Linked DNA regions of Homo sapiens: region 2 is linked to region 1. The links are contacts of gene promoters, found by promoter capture Hi-C in blood cells and fetal thymus (Javierre and others, 2016). All regions are on one chromosome and are shown on one strand. The core of a region is centred on a gene start or on the middle of the fragment in contact, and the rest is flanking DNA. Distances in the headings are between cores, read along the strand shown. Region 1 holds the start of RBMX2 (RNA binding motif protein X-linked 2). Region 2 has its middle 4.8 kb from the start of ENOX2.

What was found. Contacts are between HindIII fragments. The CHiCAGO score rates a contact against its expected background, and 5 or more counts as called.
Region 2: a contact is called between a fragment that was not itself captured here and the fragment with the promoter of RBMX2 in region 1, in 5 of 17 cell types (M1 macrophages, endothelial precursors, erythroblasts and 2 more). The highest score is 9.0, in M1 macrophages.

The regions. Positions count from the first base shown.
Region 1 is chrX:130,399,526-130,403,910 of GRCh38, forward strand. RBMX2 (RNA binding motif protein X-linked 2) reads left to right here and starts at 2,462. Exons shown (of 6, transcript NM_016024.4): 1 at 2,462-2,512; 2 at 2,730-2,845; 3 at 4,277-4,328. The coding sequence starts at 2,508. The HindIII fragment of the contact is 29,468 bases long and covers 1-4,385 here.
Region 2 is chrX:130,905,816-130,910,200 of GRCh38, forward strand. No RefSeq gene overlaps it. Among named protein-coding and RNA genes, the nearest start is that of ENOX2, 4.8 kb to the left of the region's middle. The HindIII fragment of the contact is 1,174 bases long and covers 1,331-2,504 here.

The sequences.
Region 1 (4,385 bases), core at 1,212-3,711:
CCTTTGACTACCTTAGCATTACCCTCAGAAGCTAGAACTAAATACTGCATAGAATATTTTCTAAATGGATGCTATTGGTGGAGATCACTTATAGCCACCTTGGATGCCAAACCCTCGTTCTACTTTCAGATGTTAGATTCAGAGGGTCCTCTGCATCCCCACCTCTTTTCAACTCAGACTTACGGGTATCTCTAGGCATCATCTTACCTACCAATTCCTGCCAAATGCAAGTACATCTATGGAAAATCCGACTTCCTTGCTTCGTTATTTACTTCAGGATCTCCTAGGGTGATCAACCATCATGGTTTGTTCTGGGGTTGCCAATTTTAGCTCCAAAAGTCAGAAGTCTCAGAAACCTCTCAGTTCCAGGAAAACTGGAGCAATATTCAGCTCTCTCACCTTCAGAATACCTCTGCTGAACCTACCAGCTGCATAGTAATAATAGCCTTCTCATGTTCTCAATCTAAATTGGTCTTATTCTACTCTTTTGCTCCAGCTTCTCTCGGAACACTGATGACTAATCCCCAGGTATAGTCTTAACTCTCTCATTTCACAGCCATTTGAAGAAGTCAGCAAGATAATGCTGCATGCTAGTTTACCACTCTGCAATGGCTACTTCAACCCACAACTAAGCAACCTGAGATTCCTAGGAGCAGATAAACCCCATGTGCAATCTGTCACTGTTTAGCTTTCATTGCCAAGATAATTTTACAAAGTTAATGAATAGCTGGGTTGGAATGGGGAGGGGGGAACAGACACAGAATGAATGAGGAGGAACTGTCATTGGTGGGCAGCCTCTGTTCTCCTTCTTGGCAGGACATTGGTTACATGGTGGGCCACTTGAGGGTACAGTTGTTATCATCATCAAAATGCTTTTATGAAGGACCTAATATCTGGTGCTCTGAGTTAGGCCGCACAGCTCTGGACTTTCACTTTTAGAACATCATAGTCCAAGAGCAGGTATTGATGTGGACACATGCAAAATGGATTCAAACTGTCAATATGGGTTAAATCACATATTATACATTAATAATCTCTTCCACTGGTTTCTAGATATTTCTGGTTGAAATCTATCAAGCAAATATATCTTGTCCCCTTAATTATAATATTAGCTCCTTGAAGGCAGAGGACCCACCCTGATACTCCTGTCTACAGACCTTAGCTGTACAGGACAAATCTAGATGTTCAGTAAGGACTGATTAAATCAACCTGACCTGACGGGTGCAGGTAGAGTACCTTTCAAGTTAATTTATTCCTTTGAGCCTCATTTCTTCCTCTACAAAATGAGGGTGGAAATTTTTTTTCTTTTCTTTCTTTTTTTTTTTAAATAAAAAGGAGTCTCACTCTGCTGCCCAGGCTAGAGTGCAGTGGTGCGATCTCAGCTCACTGCAATCTCTGCCTCCCAGGTTCAAGTGATTCTCCTGCCTCAGCCCCCTGAGTAGCTGAGATTACAGGCGTGTGACACCATGCCTGGCTAATTTTTGTATTTTTAGTAGAGACAGAGTTTCACCATCTTGGCCAGGCTGGTCTTGAACTCCCGACTTCAGGTGATCCACCCGTCTTAGCCTCCCAAAGTGTTGGGATGACAGGCATGAGCCACCACACTTGGCCCCCCTTTTTTTCCCTTTATTTTAGAGACAGGGTCTTGCTATGTTGCCCAGGATGGTCTCGAACTCCTGAGCTCAAGCAATCCTCCTACCTCAGCTTCCCAAAGTGCTGGGATTACAGGCTGAGCTGCTGTGCCCGGCTAGGGATTGTAATTTTCTCTGCTTTATTGGGTTGTTGTGAGGGTGGAGAGACAATACATGTAAATTGCTTAGTACATACTCTAGCATCGTATAGTACATCATCTGCTCAATTGTTAGCTATTAATTTAACAATATTAATTTCTGCCTCCTGCTCAACTAGGAGAGAGCCTATGGAAAAGAGTAAGTGCAGCAGTTCTCATGCAAATGTGTAGGTATTCGATTCAGCCTATAGAAGCACACTGGTCTGTTGCCTATGTATTGGGATAAGGACAACAGAAGATTTACCTTTTCACCTATCTTCTTCACTTTTCTGCCATGACAGGGATGCTTTGATGGGTCTGTGCTTTAGCAACTGACTAGGAGCGAAGGTCCAAGTGGGACTCTGGACTGGGAGCGAGGGCTGAGACTAAAGTCGCCACATCAGGCTGCTTGTTCCGTTCACTCAGCAAATATTTATAGCTAATCTAACCAGTTTCAGATATCGTTCAAGAGGTGGGGGTCCTGCAACAGCCCAGGCTTGTGCCTTTACCCCATTTCACAGAGAAGAAAAAGCGAAAAACTAGAGAAAAACCACCTCTCCAAGAGGTAACCGCACGCAGCGCGGAAGGCTGCTAGTGCGCAGGCGCCACGCCCCGGTACGCCCCGGCTCTTCCGGCGCGAGGTCACCGAATCGACTGGCCACTGGCGCCGGGGCCGCGCATGCGCTGCGCTGCCTTTCCCGGGCGCTGATTCCTGAGTGCTGAGCGCGAACCCGAGGAGATGAAGTAAGGCGTCAGCTTCCTTTTGAGGAAGGAGCAGCGGGCCACTGGGGGTGGTCCACCGGGACTGGTGTGGTAGAGCGTCTGCGGGGCCGAGGGGCGGGAGCGGCGCGGGGACTGGAACAGCTCGTCCCCTAGTTTTGCTCTTCCTCAGCTCCGGCCGGTTCGCACTTACTTGTCTGCTTTTCTGCCTACCCTCCCCACCCCCCCCGCCACCGTGAAGCCCTTTAACTAAGGTGAAGCTGATCAACGAGCTGAATGAACGAGAGGTCCAGCTTGGGGTGGCCGATAAGGTGTCCTGGCACTCCGAGTACAAGGACAGCGCCTGGATCTTCCTGGGTGAGGTCCACATCTTTCTTCCTCAGTGCTCTCCAGATTCTCCTGCTCGGTTTCCGACTATTTCGGCATTTTCACCCTTCACTCCTGCTTACATTCATCGCCCACCTTCATATCCATCTGCTGTCTGCCCGGGAATCCGTGTTACATCTCTTTTCTGCCCCATTTTTAGTTTTCCTTCCCTGCCAAATCAGTGCTCATGAGAGTTACTGTTTGCCATTTGCTGTGCTAAGGTTCAGGGACTGTTGTTATTTCTCTCTCACCCTCTGACCCATTATACTGCTGAGGAAATTGGGGTGCAGAGAAGTTAAGGGACTTCCTTAAGGTCACATAGCTAGTAAGCGCAACAGGCAGAACTATAGCATTCTAGAACTCTTGGTCTTAGCCACAGCTCCATATTGCTACCACCACCCTCCCCCATTCCCCTTCCCTTCCAGAATTCACTTTGCTCCTCTAGCTCCTGCTTTCTAGTCCATGGCCACGTTACCATTACTGTATTCACTTTATATCACAATCAGTAATTGTACAAGTTTGATGCTTCAAAGAGGTTATTGTACCAAACATTGTGCTAAGCACTTTATATACATCGTTTTATTTAACTCTTATAATAATCTTGCGAGTTACGTGCTAATATCCCCATCTTACAAATGAGGAAATAAATATTTGGAGGGGAAATTATTCCCTAGGAAATGCTTAACAGTGTCTTTATAACCTTTGTCTATGTGTAGGTGGGGTTAATCATGACATATGTAGACTGATTTTGTATCATAGCTGTAAATTTGTGGGTAATGAGCAGATGAATTCAACATGTTTGTGGAAGCAGAGGTTTGTGATGGAAACTATCTGCTTTGTCCATAGGATTTTGGGTGGCAGGAGGACTGAGTGATCAGATTAGTTTCGTTAGTGGTGACCCCGACTTCCACTCAAAATTAATTACTCCTTTTTCTGTACTACTGGCACCTTACATGTACTTCTGTCATTGAGTCAGACTTAATTTCTTTCTTTCTTTCTTTTTTTTGAGCTGGAGTTTCACTCTTGTCGCCCAGGCTGGAGTGCAATGGCACGATCTCGGCGCACTACAACCTCTGCCTCCTGGGTTCAAGCGAGTCTCCTGCTTCAGCCTCCTGAGTAGCTGGGATTACAGGTGCCCGCCACCTCACCTGGCTGATTTTTTTTTGTATTTTTAGTAGAGCCGGGGTTTCGCCATGTTGGACAGGCTGGTCTCGAACACCTGACCTCAGGTGATCCACCCTCCTCAGCCTCCCAAAGTGTTGGGATTACAGGCGTGAGCCACGGTGCCCAGCCCAGACTTGATTTCTTTAAGGGCAGGGCCTGTTGCTTACTGTTTCCACCCCTAGTGCCTGGCCTAGTGCGTGGTATGTAGTAAACACTTGGTAAATGTTGGTGGAACTGAAATGTGGTTTTCTCTTCTAGGAGGGCTTCCTTATGAACTGACTGAAGGGGACATCATCTGTGTGTTCTCACAGTAAGTGTCCTTTCATTTCCTGCCTCCTGAGTCGACAGAGTACTTTGTTTCTGTAAT
Region 2 (4,385 bases), core at 668-3,167, 510 kb after region 1:
ATGCCTGATAGGCTGCTGAGAAATGCCGGTCGGAAGCTTGGGAGAGAGGTCTTGCTTGGAACTAAACATTTGGGAGACATTAGTATAATATAGAGGGCAATTAAATAAGTGAAAAATTGTTTAAACTTTACTTAGAGAGTATTTTTTTTTTTGAGACGGTTTCTTACCCTGTTGCCTAGGCTGGAGTGCAGTGGCACAATCTCGGCTCACTGCAACCTCTGCCTCCTGGGTTCAAGTGATTCTCCTGCCTCAGCCTCCCGAGTAGCTGGGATTACAGGTGCCTGCCACCACAGCTGGCTATTTTTTTTTTTATTTTTAGTAGAGATGGGGCTTCACTGTGTTGCCCAGGCTGGTCTCGAACTCCTGACGTCAAGTGATCCACCCGCCTCAGCCTCCCAAAGTGCTGGGATTACAGGCGTGAGCCACTGTGCCCAGCCAATTTAGAGAGTATTTAGAATAATAGTTTTTAAAAAGACAAAGATTATGGAATCCTGGAAAATAATGATATTCAAGTAGCAAGTAGAAGAAGAGATGCCTTCCAAGGAAGCTGAGAGGGAATGCCCAAACAGATGAACCAAGAGAAAACAAAGTAGAATTACTGGCATATATTACAGAGAGGTCAAGTAGCAGGACAGAATAGTAAGAAGAAATTACTCCTTCATCAATATAACAAGTTTTTATTGAGTACCTATAATGTGCCAGACATTATTCTAGATGCTGGGAATAGAGAAGTGGAAAACACATACAACATCCCTTCCCTTTGGAGGCTATATTCTGTTAGGAAGAAGCCATCAACAAACAAGATAAATAATTAAAATACATAGCTGTGATAAGTAATATTTCTTACTGTGTATGTCACAGCTGTGTATGGCTATTTCTGTATGGTGATATAAATACACACACACACACATATATATATCTCCAATAAGCCATATGGAAATTTTATATATAATATATAAAACATATCTATATCTCCAATAAGCCATACAGAAATTTTATATATAATATATATTATATATAAGCACAAATGTATACATATATTTGTATGTGTATATACAAACGTGATACTCTTTGGTCTGTTGTTATATAATAAGATGAATTTGTGAAATACTGGCCCAGGGTCAAACAGTCTGGCTGGATTCAGAGAACAATTAGGAAGTCAAGGTTAGAGCTGTATCCAGAGCCAGTGTAGAGCCCAGGTCAAGGCCAGGGTTCATGTGTATAATGTGGAATGTATTTAGCTTCAATCTTTTCTCAGGTTAAGATTTAGTAAGTCTGTAGCTGTTTTTACAGGCCATTGTGGATTCAGGATCAGAAGACCATCAAACCAAGCTTAGGGTTAAGCCTGATAGCAATATTAGGCCCCAGATTTAGAGCCATGGTTCAGTCTGTGTCACAGATTAAAGTGCATTTCTGACCACTCTGGACTAACAGCAGCCTCAGGGTGTTAAAGCTCACTCTGAGGCTGCTGTAAGTCTAGAGTGGCCTGGTTTATGAAGTCAAGGTGCAAGATTTGGGTTCAAATTTTGGCCAGAATTAGGATTTAGTCTGTGTGTAGGAAGAGGCCTCATTCTAAAATTAGAGTTAGGGCTCAGTCTGTGGACCAGACTTAGACCACACCCAAGGTTAGGGCTCAGCTCAATGTTTGACTTTAGTTTTTGATCAATGTTGGAATCACTTTCATTTCTAGACTTGAAAGTCAATAAAGGCCAGGACCATGGCTCTGCCTGGGATTAGTCTTCATGCTGATGATGTTGCCTAGGAAAAAATGAAGTAAGAATATGAACAGGATTTATGTTCAGTCTTTCTTCAGGTTAAGTTTCAATTCGTATTCATGGTTAGAGTTTATTCTGGGTCCAATAATTAAGTCTCAGTCCGTGGCCAATGGTAAGGCACAGTCAATGTCTAATATTCAGTCTGTTGCCATGTTAGGACATTACCTGTCATGTGCCCTAGAGCCTTGTCTCAAACCAGAGTTAGCATTTCATATATGGACAAAATTATGATACAGTTTGTGGCCAGGATTTCAATGATGAATATGAACAGGATTTGGGATGCATATTTGGCTAGAGTAAGTTCAAGGTGTGGTTTCTGACTTTAGCCAGTGTCAGGATTCTGTCTTTGTCCATAGCTCATATCAACAATGTTCTATGGAGCTAACTCACAGTGGCCTGTGTTGGCCCTCATTCTGTGGCCAGAGCAGGGCTCAGTCGGTGACCTGTATTAGCCATTTCAATTTGACCACTATCAGAGTTGAGTCTGGAGGGAGTAATTCCACTATGACTTTATGTAGCATTTGTGTTCACTGAGTATTGGTGGTAGTGCTATCTGATTAAACTTGTACCAGAGTTTGGGAGTTACCAATAACCAAGGTAAGGCTTACTATGAAGAAGGTTTTAAGGCTAAGAGTGTAAACAGGTTTTTTGGATTAGCTGTTGATGTTATTTGTCAGTCAGTGGATAGAGTTGAGATGAGAACAAACAACACATAAAATCCAGATTGAAAGCTTTAGAGGCTCAGGCTGTAATCAGGGTTTTGGGATCAGGATGTTGCCAGGGTTTGAGTTCAGAGTGTTCATTGCCTGTTGTCAGTCTGGCACTTAGACTCTGGCTTAGTGTAGCAGGCATTTCGGTATCAGTAGTAGAGTTCAGTCTTTGCTAATTGTTAGTGACCATAATGTGCCCAGTGCCATGGGTACATCTATTCACAATTGAGGACTAAGTTTGTGACCAGACTGATTGCTCAACCTCCAGCTAGTGCTAGGACTCAGTTTGTGGCCACTAATACAGTGAACTTTGTTTATGGGTTTAAGACTTGATATGTGACAAAGGTGAGTACTTAGTCTCAGCCTGTTGTTAGATCTGATAATATGAGCAGGATTTTGATTTAGTCTTGTAGGGTCAGGAATCATTTCTCTAACCAGGCTTAGGGCTTGGCCTTTAGGTCTCAGACTGTGGTGGGACTTACAGTCTTCATCCCAGCTCAGTATTCAGAATGTGGCCAGGAAGAGGGCTCAGATCTTAGCCATGGTGAGTTCCGTCTGTGCTCAGGGTTAGAATTAAATCTGTTGCAGGGTTTTAGGCCAAGAAAATGAAAAGTATTTGTTTTGTCTTTGTCTAGTTTGTCCTTCATTCATCTTCAAGGTTTGGGTTCAGTCTCTGCCCAGTGCTGGTGAGCAGCTTAATTTCTGGTATTAGGAATCAGTCGGTAGCCAGGGTTAAAGTTAAAGTTGTGGTTGAAATTGGGATCCAGTCTCGGGTGAACATTTAGCCAGAGATAGGGTTCAGTCTATCTCAAAAATTCAGGATCAGTCATTAGCCATTTGGAGAAATCAGATTTATTTTCAGGTTGAAAGCTCATGTCAGAGGTTAGGCTTATGGGCTCAGTCTGTGATGAGAGTTAGGAATTCAGTCTATGGCTAGAGTTAGAGATGCAGTCTGTAACCAGTTAGAAGCTGTAAGGTTTAGGGGTCAAATCAGTGGCCAGTGATAGGGCTCAGTCTGTCCCAGGATCAGTAGATTATTTCCTGATCAGATTTATGAACCCAGTCTCTGTCCAGGTTTAGAACTTGGGCTTTGAACATGGTTAAGACTCAGTTTGTGGCCATGTTCAGGGTTCTGTCTATAGTCAGGATTAGGACATATGCTGTGGTCAAAATATTCTCAAGTTTTGTGGAAGATTTGGTTTCACTTCTTGGCCATGATTAAGGCACAGAGTTGGGACAAGTTTAGAGTCTGGTCTCTGTACATGTTTTCGTCTCTGTATGAGGCCAAGTTTAGTAGTCATTCTGTTGCCAATGTTGGGGTCATTTTCTGGTTAGTGCTAAGTCTGGGAAATTGTAGCTGGGTTGGTTTCCAAGATCAGATCTCAGGCTGTGACCAAGTTAGAGCCTCAGTCTGTAGTCAGGGCTAGAGCTCAGTTAGTATCTATGCTGAGCACTCATTTTGTGGTCAGTTCAGGATGTTAAGTATATCCCAGAGTTAGGTCATGCAGTCTGTAGCCTAGTTTAGAGACTCAGCCTGGGGACAGACTTAGGGGCTATATCTGATGTTATTTTTGATCCCTGTATCGTGAATTAAGGACTTATACAGTAGCCATAGTTATGGTTCAATAGGGGATCAGGGTTAGAGATTCAGGTTGGGACCAGTCTTAAGTACTTACTCTTGGGCCAGATGTAGACAGTCAGTATGTAACTAGGCCTAGGGACTTGATTTAATCAGGATTAAGACCTTGGAGTGTGGCCAGAAAGTGGCTCAGTTTGTGGATAGAATTAGGGTCTTCATTTGTGGCCAGGGTTAAAGGCTTGGTGTGAAATTGGAGTTAAGCCTCCAAGTTCAGAGTTAGGAGTTTAGGCTATGTCTTGGGTTAGGTGTTTGGCTGGTGGT